Regions from separate parts of the Homo sapiens genome. Here region 1 is linked to region 2. The links are contacts of gene promoters, found by promoter capture Hi-C in blood cells and fetal thymus (Javierre and others, 2016). All regions are on one chromosome and are shown on one strand. Each heading gives the region's core, a stretch centred on a gene start or on the middle of the fragment in contact. The rest is flanking DNA. Distances are from core to core; before and after follow the strand shown. Region 1 holds the start of ITGBL1 (integrin subunit beta like 1). Region 2 holds the start of TPP2 (tripeptidyl peptidase 2).

Region 1 (5,103 bases), core at 2,347-4,846, 1.1 Mb before region 2:
TTTCAAATATCTTCTTAATTATTTGAATAAAGGTACAGAATGTGTGCTCATCATATTACTTTTGAGAGGGTGAAATAAATATAAAACAAGTAACCATAGTTATTTTTACCGACTGGATAAAAGAACAAAGCTTAGATGAAAAATAATAAAGATAAATATCAATTTGTGTTTGGGGAAAAATACACTTTTAAAAGCACACAACTGGGACAACGTGGCATTCAAAAAAGTGAATATGACCTTCAGTTTTATTGGGAGAAATATAGCATATGAAACAAGAATACTCAAAGTACTGATCTATTCCACATCCATTAGGCCACAGCTTCTTGAATGGTTTCAGTTGTATATATCATACTTTCCAAAAGGCATCCATCCCAGAAAAAGCAAAAATGCTCAGAAAATCAGGGTTTTGAAAGCTTGAAGTTATAATACGTAAGAAAGAGGTGAAGGCAATGAAAATATTTATCTTTAAGAAGTGTAGAATTGTTTGGGGGTTATATAGACTGGGGAATATACTATTACATCATTGAATATTTGATTCAAGGCTAGTGGCTAGAATATTATTTTAAATGTCTTCTTAGAGTAGACCTGGAACCAAGGGGTGAAACCTTCAAAGCAATTCTCAGAAAAGGATGTGGTCCTCTTAATTTTTGTTTTTTTACCAAGGCCACCTAATTACTTGGCAAATATACGGTATGTTATCAACAAATTTAGTTTTGAACTAGACAACCTTTAAAAAATACCTTGAAGGCTGAAATTCTCTGATTGTGTAACCTGAGGACTGAAGGACTCCATTCAAGGACTAGGGTGTTTTCAATCTTTTTGAATTCAGTTCCAGATGCACCCGGTCCTTTCAGGCACCCTTCATTATGCATCCAACCTACTGCTGTGTCCCCAGCCAGCAGAAGTGAGAAACTCAGGACCTTTCTTGGCACATGTGCGTCCTTGAGGTTCTGAAAACTGGGAAAATGGAAGGAGTAGGTGTTTCCAAGGCATTCAATACTTTGGTTAAAAAAAAAAAAAAAGAATGCTAAAAGGCATAAATTTAAAGTTACCCTTTGATTTTGACAGAGTTTCTGTGGATCCAAGACTTTCGACTGAGTCACCAAGTCAGCCACAATATAACTATTTCAACTGACTGGGAATATTATTTCTGAGTCATAGTAATGTAATGATCTGAACATTTATATTCTCTCAGTTACCTAGTACATACTAACTTCATTTCAAAGGTGAATAATATATTAAAGAGAATATTGCTTATTGAATACTACACTGTATGAAAATACTACAGGTTAAAAAATCACTTAAATCCATTAAAAATGTTCAAATATCAAGTCCCTATTTCATAATAAATTTTCCCTCAGAAAATATGCAAGGAGTAAACAATACATGACTCATTTATTAAAGCTTCCATGTTTTTATTGCAAATTCCTAGTTGGGCTTTGGAATAGATACTTCCCTTCTATCATTACCACATTCTCTGAGTCACTAGGTTTCTAGATGTTGACAGGAAAGCCTGTTCCTATGTCCTTGTACTATCACACGTGGGCAGGATAAAATGTAACTCTAGAATTTGTACTAAAGGTGGGTGGAAATTCCACTCTTAGATCCAGGCACCCTCAGGCGTCAGCCCTGAGCCCTGTGCTTTGCAAACTTCTCAAGCTATTATTATGTAAAAATAGATATCTTGGGATATTATTCAAATGCACTCTGTGATTCCTTAGAGCTGGGGTTGGGGCCTGAGAAGTTGCATTTCCATAAGTTCCCAAATGATGCTGATGTTGCTGCAGGTCCATGGACCACGCTTTAAGAACAACTGACTTAGTAATTCCCATTCTGTCTCTTTTAGACAGGCCCTTCCCCCACAGGCTGCAGTTCATGTGACTTAGGGAACCTGCCAACTCAGAACCTGTGTCCTTTTTTCCTAAGCCGCACTTTGGTTATCCAAGACCCCAGAATTACCTGTCCAGACAGCCTCCCAAAACTGTGCATACCTGTCCCCAGTCTGTCCTTGCAATAGAAGACTCCACCAGTGTGTACACACCTGTATCTAAGTGTGGCCAGAAAATCAGCTATTTGAAAAAGGTTAAATTGTGTGGGTAGGGGTTGGGGGGTGGGGGGACACACAGATGGGCCTCATGCAAAACCTCCCCTATTACAGGGTGGAGATTGGGGTAGAAACAGAAATGTACTATGATTAGAGGACCTTCATCGTCTTCTTGCTCCAGCAGGCTAGTGTTGTGGTGGTCTTACCCTTATACCTACTTATATATAAAGGACAGGGAGAAATCCCATCCTATTATGGCTCATCCCTGATTTTAAGGATCTGGGACCACAGATGATTCTTGGATGGTTCTATTTCATGAGGAAGGATTGCATGTACAGTGCTCTTCTTAGGGTGAATGAAAAATGTTTTCCCCCTTCCATATAACCCTCTACACATTTTCCCAGATGACCATAAATGTAGGGGATAGTGTATGCACTTTGGATTTCAGCTGAAATACGACTAACTTCCTCTGTGAATTTGAGCAAGTCAGTTGACCTCTTTGCCCTCAGTTTCTTTATCTTTAAAATGGGAGTAAGAATGTCTCCCTGTTCTCTTCCATCTCCTTCTTATTTCTACCCAATTTAATTCAATACTTTTTTCAGTTTTTTGTTCAGATGCTACCATCTTTGATTAGATCAAGTGCCTGTATCTCATCTGGAAGTAACTTCTCACTGCACTTGCAACCCTTTGTTCTTTTTTTTTGTGGTTTTGTGTTGATTAATGTCTTTCTAGCTCATTGGACTCTGAGAGAGCAGGGATCATGTCTCCTTAGTTCTCTGTTATATTCATTCTGTCTTGCACAAAACCTGGCACCTGATAGATGCTAAATCCCCATTTGCTAATGCATAAATAAATGTGTGATTATTGTCATAATTAGAGAAAACATACTAAATGACTGGCACATAGTAGGTGCTTAGTAAATGACACCAATTGTTTTTCAGTGCAATTTGTGCTATAAATAAACATTTAATTTTCTTTTCTCACATTTGATATATGGGGAGAATGGGGTGAATTTGAGACAACTACAATTTAAACTGTCCAAGTCACCAACAAATTGTGGTGTGATAAGCTACTGGCCTAAACAGCTGGAAGCATGACACGCTTTTTAAAGACTAAAGAAATGAAATATCCAGTTTAAATCAAAGGATAATAAATGCAAGAAAAAGTTGTGTTTGTCAGATTTCCTTGCCCCGGCCCCAACCCAAACTCCAAAGAGTGCATCTACTTTAAAAGCGTGTGGTGAAAGTAATTCCCTACCCAAGTGTTCCCACTACTGTCACTGGCCTCACCCTTCTCCACAACTCAGGGATTATTTTAAAGGTTTCTTTAATATCGGCCAGTCCAAATATTCTCTTGTCAAATATTTCTGTGGCCCGTACTTGAAATCTGTGAACAGGACACTTTTTTTTTTTTTAATGTCAAAATAAACCATCTGCTTGTACAACTGTTTCTAATTACTTCCCTGCCTAGACTCTCCACTGAGGGGTTTGGCACCAGCACCCCGCCCAGAGCAGTGCCGCTGCCCAAATCCTCGCAGGCAGCTCATCAACGCAATTGCAACTCCGGCTGGAGCCCCGGACCTGCAAGCCTGGGTGTCCGTGGGTCCGTCTGCCCAGCCATCTGCTGGTGGCACCTCTCCCTCCTGCCGCCTCCCTCGGTGAACCCCACCTTGCAGAAGTGCAGCTCGCCCGGAGCAGCCCAGGAGCTCAGCATGCGTCCCCCAGGCTTCAGGAACTTCTTGCTGCTGGCGTCCTCCCTTCTCTTTGCTGGGTTGTCAGCTGTTCCTCAAAGCTTCTCGCCATCTCTGAGGTAAGTTTGGTTTGTTATTCTTCAGTACAGACCTGCCCTGCTTATGTGGCAGGGCTCAAGCTTGCAGGATGGCTGCCCTAAGCCAAGAGCTGTTATTAAATTGGACAAGGGATAAACTGTTTTCAACCTGTTCCTTTTCCTCTCCTTATATCTACAGCGTGTATTGCCTCATGTCTGTCCTTTTGCTTTTCCTTTGGAAAAATGCAATCATTGAATAAAAATATAATTTTCTTTTCTGCAAATACATATCAGGAGGAATTCCTGCTGTGAGTTAAAATGCTATGTGTACCAGTATCTTCTCACAACATGTAAAGCAGAATGATCTGTTTCCCAAGGGCAGCAACAGGAGGTCTGTGTTACATTTTGTATCATCCTGAAAGAGACTGAGTGAGGCACACTGCAATAGTGAAACTAAACTTTTTAAAAGTAGAGTTCCTAAAGACTGCTTAATGCAAATTATGCCCGATGCTATCATAGCATGTCTAACTCTTTCTATAGATTCACGTTTTCTCTTCTGTAATATAAGTGCCCATTGGCCATCAGATAGCAGTGGGACGTTTTTTAAAGGAGAACTGAAAAGTCAGCTGAGTGCCGTACCTTGGATTACTTTGTATTTAATCTAAATGTGCATATAAGATTTAGTGATAAACTACCAAAGAGCAGGGCAGTTCACCTCTGTCCACCTGGAGGAAGGACCTGTGTCCGGGGGCAGGTCACCCATTACACATTTTGGGCCCTGGTCATTTCTCTGGTGGGTGATACCTGTTTGCTTGGGAAAATACAGCCCTTCCAGGCAGCGCTTGGACCCCAGAGAGATGTGGGCCTCAGGCGTCCTGTTCTTGGGGTTGTACGTCTGCACCTGGAGGGGACACTGGGGAGGAAACGTGGGTTCGGAGCAGGGGGCGGCGTCCGCGTCTGACCCGGCCTGCCGGTTGCTTGTCGCCCGCGCAGGAGCTGGCCGGGCGCCGCCTGCAGGCTGTCCCGGGCCGAGTCGGAGCGACGCTGCCGCGCACCTGGGCAGCCCCCGGGGGCCGCGCTGTGCCACGGCCGGGGCCGCTGCGACTGCGGCGTCTGCATCTGCCACGTGACTGAGCCGGGCATGTTCTTCGGGCCCCTGTGTGAGTGCCATGAGTGGGTGTGCGAGACCTACGACGGGAGCACCTGTGCAGGTAAGAGGGCGGCGCTGTCTCCTCCCTCGGGAGGTCGAAACTCCTCTTCTGGGATTTCTGCCACTCCCTAGAAGAGTGAAG
Region 2 (5,395 bases), core at 2,187-4,686:
ACTTTTCATTTGTCTCATTAAATCCATCTTTTCTACAATTTAAGCAAAGGTTATAGAGCAAAAGATGACATTTGTCATATGAGTGATTCTTAAAATGGGAGCTTCAACGTACGTCTGAATTTTGTTCACATTACTTTCTGGGCATATTATGTAATACTTATATATCCTGGTTTCGCTTCTTAAGAATTGATGATTCAATTTTACAAGAGACACAGACATACAAATCTTATCCTTTTAACTAGTCCTGTCATTAACAGAAGCATGACTTATTTATACCAAGCATCTTTTTAAGAGCTCTATTTTCAATAAAAATTTTTTTGTCCTGTAATTTTTAATCAAAGCTTAAGACTTACTCATGTTGTTGTAATCAACTTTGTAATAACTGAAAGATAACCCAAAAGAATAAGTTTAACATTTTTCTTCCAGGAAAATTTTTAAAATTAATATATTTTTATTGCAGATGATGATACATTATCAATATGCCTTTCCATTATAAATGCAAATTACAATGAGAAAAAATTCCATATAGAATGGAAATAAAGTTTCCAGAAGAAATAGTGATATAAAATGTCTGCTTTTAAGTGTTCAGATATTTTATAAATAGTTGATGGTAGCTATCAGAGTTACACTCAACTGGGTATATTTACATGAGAAACGTGAAAGTTTCATTAAATAATGACGATATTTATACTATGCCAGAAATTACATCCTTTATAATTTTTAAAATTTATGATAGGCCGGGCGCAGTGATTCACGCTTGTAATGCCAGCACTTTGGGGGGCCGAGGCGGGTGGATCACCTGAGGTCGGGAGTTCGAGACCAGTCTGACATCAACATGGAGAAACCCCGTATCTATTTAAAAAAATACAAACATTAGCTGGGTGTGGTGGCACATGCCTGTAATCCCAGCTACTTGGGAGGCTGAGGCAGGAGAATCACTTGAACCCCGGGAGGTGGAGGTTGCAGTGAGCCGAGATCCCGCCATTGCACTCCAGCCTGGGCAAGAAGAGCAAAACTCCATCTCAAAAAAAAAAAAAAAAATTGTGACAAATTTAGACTTCATTTTACAGCTGTACAAAGGGATACATAACTTTTTTAAAAACATGTTTATGGGATATGTAAGCAAAAAAAGAAAAATCTGGCCGGGTGCAGTGGCTGATGCCTGTAATCTGAGCACCTTGGGAGGCCGAGGTGGGTGGATCCCCTAAGGTCAGGAGTTCAAGACCAGCCTGGCCAACATGGCGAAACCCCGTCTCTACTAAAAATACAAAAACTAGCCAGGTGTGGTGGCATGCACCTGTAATCCCAGCTACTCGGGAGGCTGAGGCAGGAGAACTGCTTGAACCCGGGAGGCGGAGGTTACAGTTACCCGAGATTGTGACATTGCACTCCAGCCTGGGCCACAGAGTGAGACTCTGTGTCAAAAAAGAAAAAGAAAAGGAAAGGAAAAGAAAAATCTAAAGAACATTGTTACGGCAGTCTAATAAAAAGTCTGCCACCTAGGTTTCATAATAAACTGTTCATTCCCCATTTATTCATTGGGTGATACTCTGGCAAAGTCATGCACATGGTGTGGTAGAACATACTGGGGAGAGATTGTGAGAAGACAAATCCCGTGTTTTCATCAACCTGTTTTGTAATCCATGACAGTCAGTTAACTTTGTTTCTTCATCTATAAAATGAAGTGATTGGACTATGGTTCACTTGAAACTGGGAGCCATTCTGTTCTATCACTATAAGCTCTATACTGAATGTCTTCTGCGAGTTTGTTATTCTGTTTTCGTCTGTGTTAATTTGAAATTCTTTTCTAGAGGTAATGTAAACAGTTGGGAATAAGAAGAAAAACATTCAACTTTTCTTTTTCCTCTGCACTAAAGAGAACATGCTTGTGTAAGACTTATGGACTGAATAAATGATCAAGGAATCAGCTGAAACCATTGCACAGCCATAAGAATAATTTTTGAGACTTAATGGAGGATCTCTGAAATTCTGTGGGTTGGAAACCGCATGCATAAGGCTTTCCTTTATACCAGGTATTCTTAACTTGGTGTCCATAGACAGAATCCAAGGGGTTCAAAAACTTCCGTAGAAAAAAGATACAAACCTCTTAATTTTTTTCACATCAAGTATGAATGTAGGCAAAAACCAGGGTAGTTATGCTGTTATGTCACCAATAAAAATCAGTTCATCGTAGTGCAGTTTTCACCGCTATCTCCAAATAATTATATTCTTCACTATTTTGAAGTTATGGTAGTTTATTAGCCTTGGCCCTAGCTCCTGTTATTTAATGCAAAAGAAGTACACCTGTAACTATACACACACACGTAAAGCTCCTGCTATATAACAAAATTGCCTTTAGTATTTTTGATAACTGCATTTAAACATAATTTATTTCCTGGGTAATCCTATCTATTTCATTGTATGCATTTTAAAACACTGCTTGAGAAATAGGCCTCACCAGATTGCCAAAGGGGTCTTCGGCACAATAAAAGGCTAAGATTACCCTGGCATGAGCATAGACATAAAGATCATTAGAGGACCACTATGCAGCTTGCAGCAACTGACGGCAGGCACTGTGAATCTGGAAAACTGAAAATTATGGCTCTATAATTGAGTGGACAGCCGTAAGGAGCAATCAGAAACTTCAGTGTAAGAGGAAAAAAAAAGATGTTTTTCAGAAATCCCGGAAGCTAAGGATCAGCAGAGGATAGGAGGGGCCCATTTCAGTCTCGTGCTTTGTTACTGGCTACAAAGGCGACGGAATGACCAACAACCCACTTCCTGTTGACTGAAACTATTGCCTGTCTCCACCCTATTGCTCCCCCTCACCACCTCACCCCCATCAAAGGGGCATAACAACACAGGGGAACCCAAAGTCTACACCCCTTAACCTACGACCTTCCAAAATCATGTCCGGAGCTTTCGCCGACACCGCAGACTCCTTAGCGGCTAAGCGTGAGTGCGCCGGCTCCCTTGCCTCGGGTCAGCAGCACCCCGGGGCTGGGGCTCCTGCAGCAGCCGCACCAAAAAGTTTCATCCACAACCTTAAGTTTGGAAACTATCGTTTGCCAAGCGAAGGGTTCCCATTATTCCTGGCTGGCGGTCCATCTCCTTGCCCGTCTCTCGGGGAGTGATTCGGTCCGGGACACCAGGACTCTGCTTGGAGGCCTGCTGTTGCCTAAAAACCCCAAGCGCGGGCCTCTTCAAGGCCCCAGGTTCGAGATCCGAACCCTCCAGTAATGTCCTCAGACTCCTCCCCCTTCACTGCAGCCCGGGCAATACTCGGGCCTAGCTCCTGAGAGCGGCGCCGTTGGCTTACGTAGCAGCACGTGATTGGCCACCGCTCCCTGGCAGGCCGGGATTGGTGGAAGACGGGCCGACCCCGCCCCTCGCCCCCGCCTCCGGCCCGAGGCCGCACGGGTGTCCTCGCGCTGCTAGTCCGCGCGCAGCCTGGCAGTTTGCCGCTTCCTCGTCCTCCATCCTGCGTCCATGGCCACCGCTGCGACTGAGGAGCCCTTCCCTTTTCACGGTCTCCTGCCGAAGAAGGAGACCGGAGCCGCCTCCTTCCTCTGCCGCTACCCGGAGTATGATGGGCGGGGGGTGCTCATCGCAGTCCTGGACACGGGGGTCGACCCGGGGGCTCCGGGCATGCAGGTGAGGCGGCCCCCGAGGGCCCGGGCGCGGGGGCGCGGGCGGCCGGGGACGCGGGTGGGGACACAGTCTCGGAGCCCGGCAGGCCAAAGCCCCGCTCTGCGGCCGAGTCCGGGCCGGGGTGGGCAGCACCGGGGTGGGCAGAGGTCAGAGCCAGGCGCGGGAGGGACGGGCGCCCGCCAAGGGGACTCAACGGCGCACAGTGCCAGGGTCGCTGGGCGGGCGAGGGCCCGGACCCCAGGTTGGGCCGTGGTCCCCCCAGCTCAACAAAAGCAGCGTGCCCGGCGCGGCTGCCTGGGGAAGCCTGGGTCCCCCTTTGGCCCCAGGGACTCCCCTTCCTTCTCGCTTCGGCGCTGCCAGGCCGGACCCCCCAGGCTCCTTCCCTCCACGCCGCCTTCCTCTGCCTACCCCTCGTGCCTCGGACACCGGTCCCAGCCTGACGTTTTTAAAGAGAATTTTACAGCTTTTATCATTGGGGTGGGGTGGAGACACCAGATAGGCAACTGACATGTGAGAACTTAATGTTTAGGGATCGGGAGATTTGGTTTGGGGAAGAATAGTTTGTCTTTAAGCACGAAAGCTGGGTTTCCAGAAGATAACCCAGTCCTCTTCCGGAATTGTTTCCTGTGGTAGTTTTGTGTATTCTATTTTTAAACGGTCTTCTGCAGCGTGTTTGCTTAGGGTCATTGAATCTTGTGGCTTAGTCTTCGTTTACATAAGGAGAATTCAGTTAGGTTTGGTTTTGGCGAGCTTCTCAGACCTTATGAAAATATGCGACTTTTTTTTTTTTAAACCTGAAAACATACGACGGTTTTTAAAAATTACTTAGTTTTTTGCCTTAGGCAACTTTAAAATCTGTAGATTCAAGGTATCATACCAGAAGGTAGTTTTTTTGAAAGTATGTTGTCTCTCGTTAAAAGCATTCTGTTTAAAGTCTTTAAAGTTTAACTTTTGTACTTTTAACCCTTTACTGAAATCCAGTAATAAAATTTCACCGTTATTCAAGATCCATCTCCCAGCATCCCTGACTAATCCTACTGTATGCTGATCTCTCGTTGATCAGCCCCTGGCTATCTTATCCTCCTTTCTACACTAAACACTCATCCTCCTCCCCACAATGTCCCTTCCCTTCTGGATCCTTTATCGTGCTTTCTGATTATTGAGGTAGCATTTTGGAAGTAACGAGGGGGAGTCTGGCCGAATCTGCTTAGAAACCCCTGGGAATCTTGATTCCTGGTGTGTGTTCTTCAGCACCACTCTGGAGTACAGCACATCTTTTGTGAATCAGAAGAGGATCAGGTACTGAATTCCCTCCCGGTAACTGGAGTTATATAGTTGTCGTTGTATTAATAACTTAAAGACTTAGAACAATGACAGCTATCAACTCATTTGGGGCTTTATTACAAAGTAATAATGCTTTTCATTCAGCTGTGGAGTGTGTTTACTTTTTATAGGATGAGTGGGAGGAAAACAGCTGGGATAAGTGGTTCACCGGTTCTTTTGTCAGGATAATAAGAGGGTCAGAAAAGTTTGGAGAAGTGCTGCTTGGTAGAATTTGTTGGTAGAATTTCCAGATCTGTTTCTCACATTATTCTGTTACTCTCTCTAAAGTAACAATAATTTTCACCCCACAGCCTTGTTGTGAAAATTGATTATAAGAGGACTGGCTAATTACATGTGACTTTTTTAAATGCTCAAGAAAAATATTAAACTATTTTGGCAATGATATTTATTCTTTTTTGTA

The links. The method cuts DNA at HindIII sites, captures the fragments that hold promoters and counts their contacts. A CHiCAGO score of 5 or more calls a contact.
Region 1: the fragment with the promoter of ITGBL1 here is called in contact with the fragment with the promoter of TPP2 in region 2 in 1 of 17 cell types (endothelial precursors); the score reaches 8.0 in endothelial precursors.

The regions. Positions count from the first base shown.
Region 1 is chr13:101,449,079-101,454,181 of GRCh38, forward strand. ITGBL1 (integrin subunit beta like 1) reads left to right here and starts at 3,597. Exons shown (of 11, transcript NM_004791.3): 1 at 3,597-3,853; 2 at 4,805-5,022. The coding sequence starts at 3,756. RefSeq lists enhancers at 642-1,841, 3,175-3,679. The HindIII fragment of the contact is 2,431 bases long and covers 1,403-3,833 here.
Region 2 is chr13:102,593,550-102,598,944 of GRCh38, forward strand. TPP2 (tripeptidyl peptidase 2) reads left to right here and starts at 3,437. Exons shown (of 30, transcript NM_001330588.2): 1 at 3,437-3,654. The coding sequence starts at 3,490. It overlaps LOC107984588 (a long non-coding RNA gene), which reads right to left and starts at 3,393. Exons shown (of 2, transcript XR_001749984.3): 1 at 2,899-3,393; 2 at 1-852. RefSeq lists enhancers at 2,871-3,030, 3,081-3,140 and silencers at 3,211-3,500, 3,661-3,950. The HindIII fragment of the contact is 7,622 bases long and covers 340-5,395 here.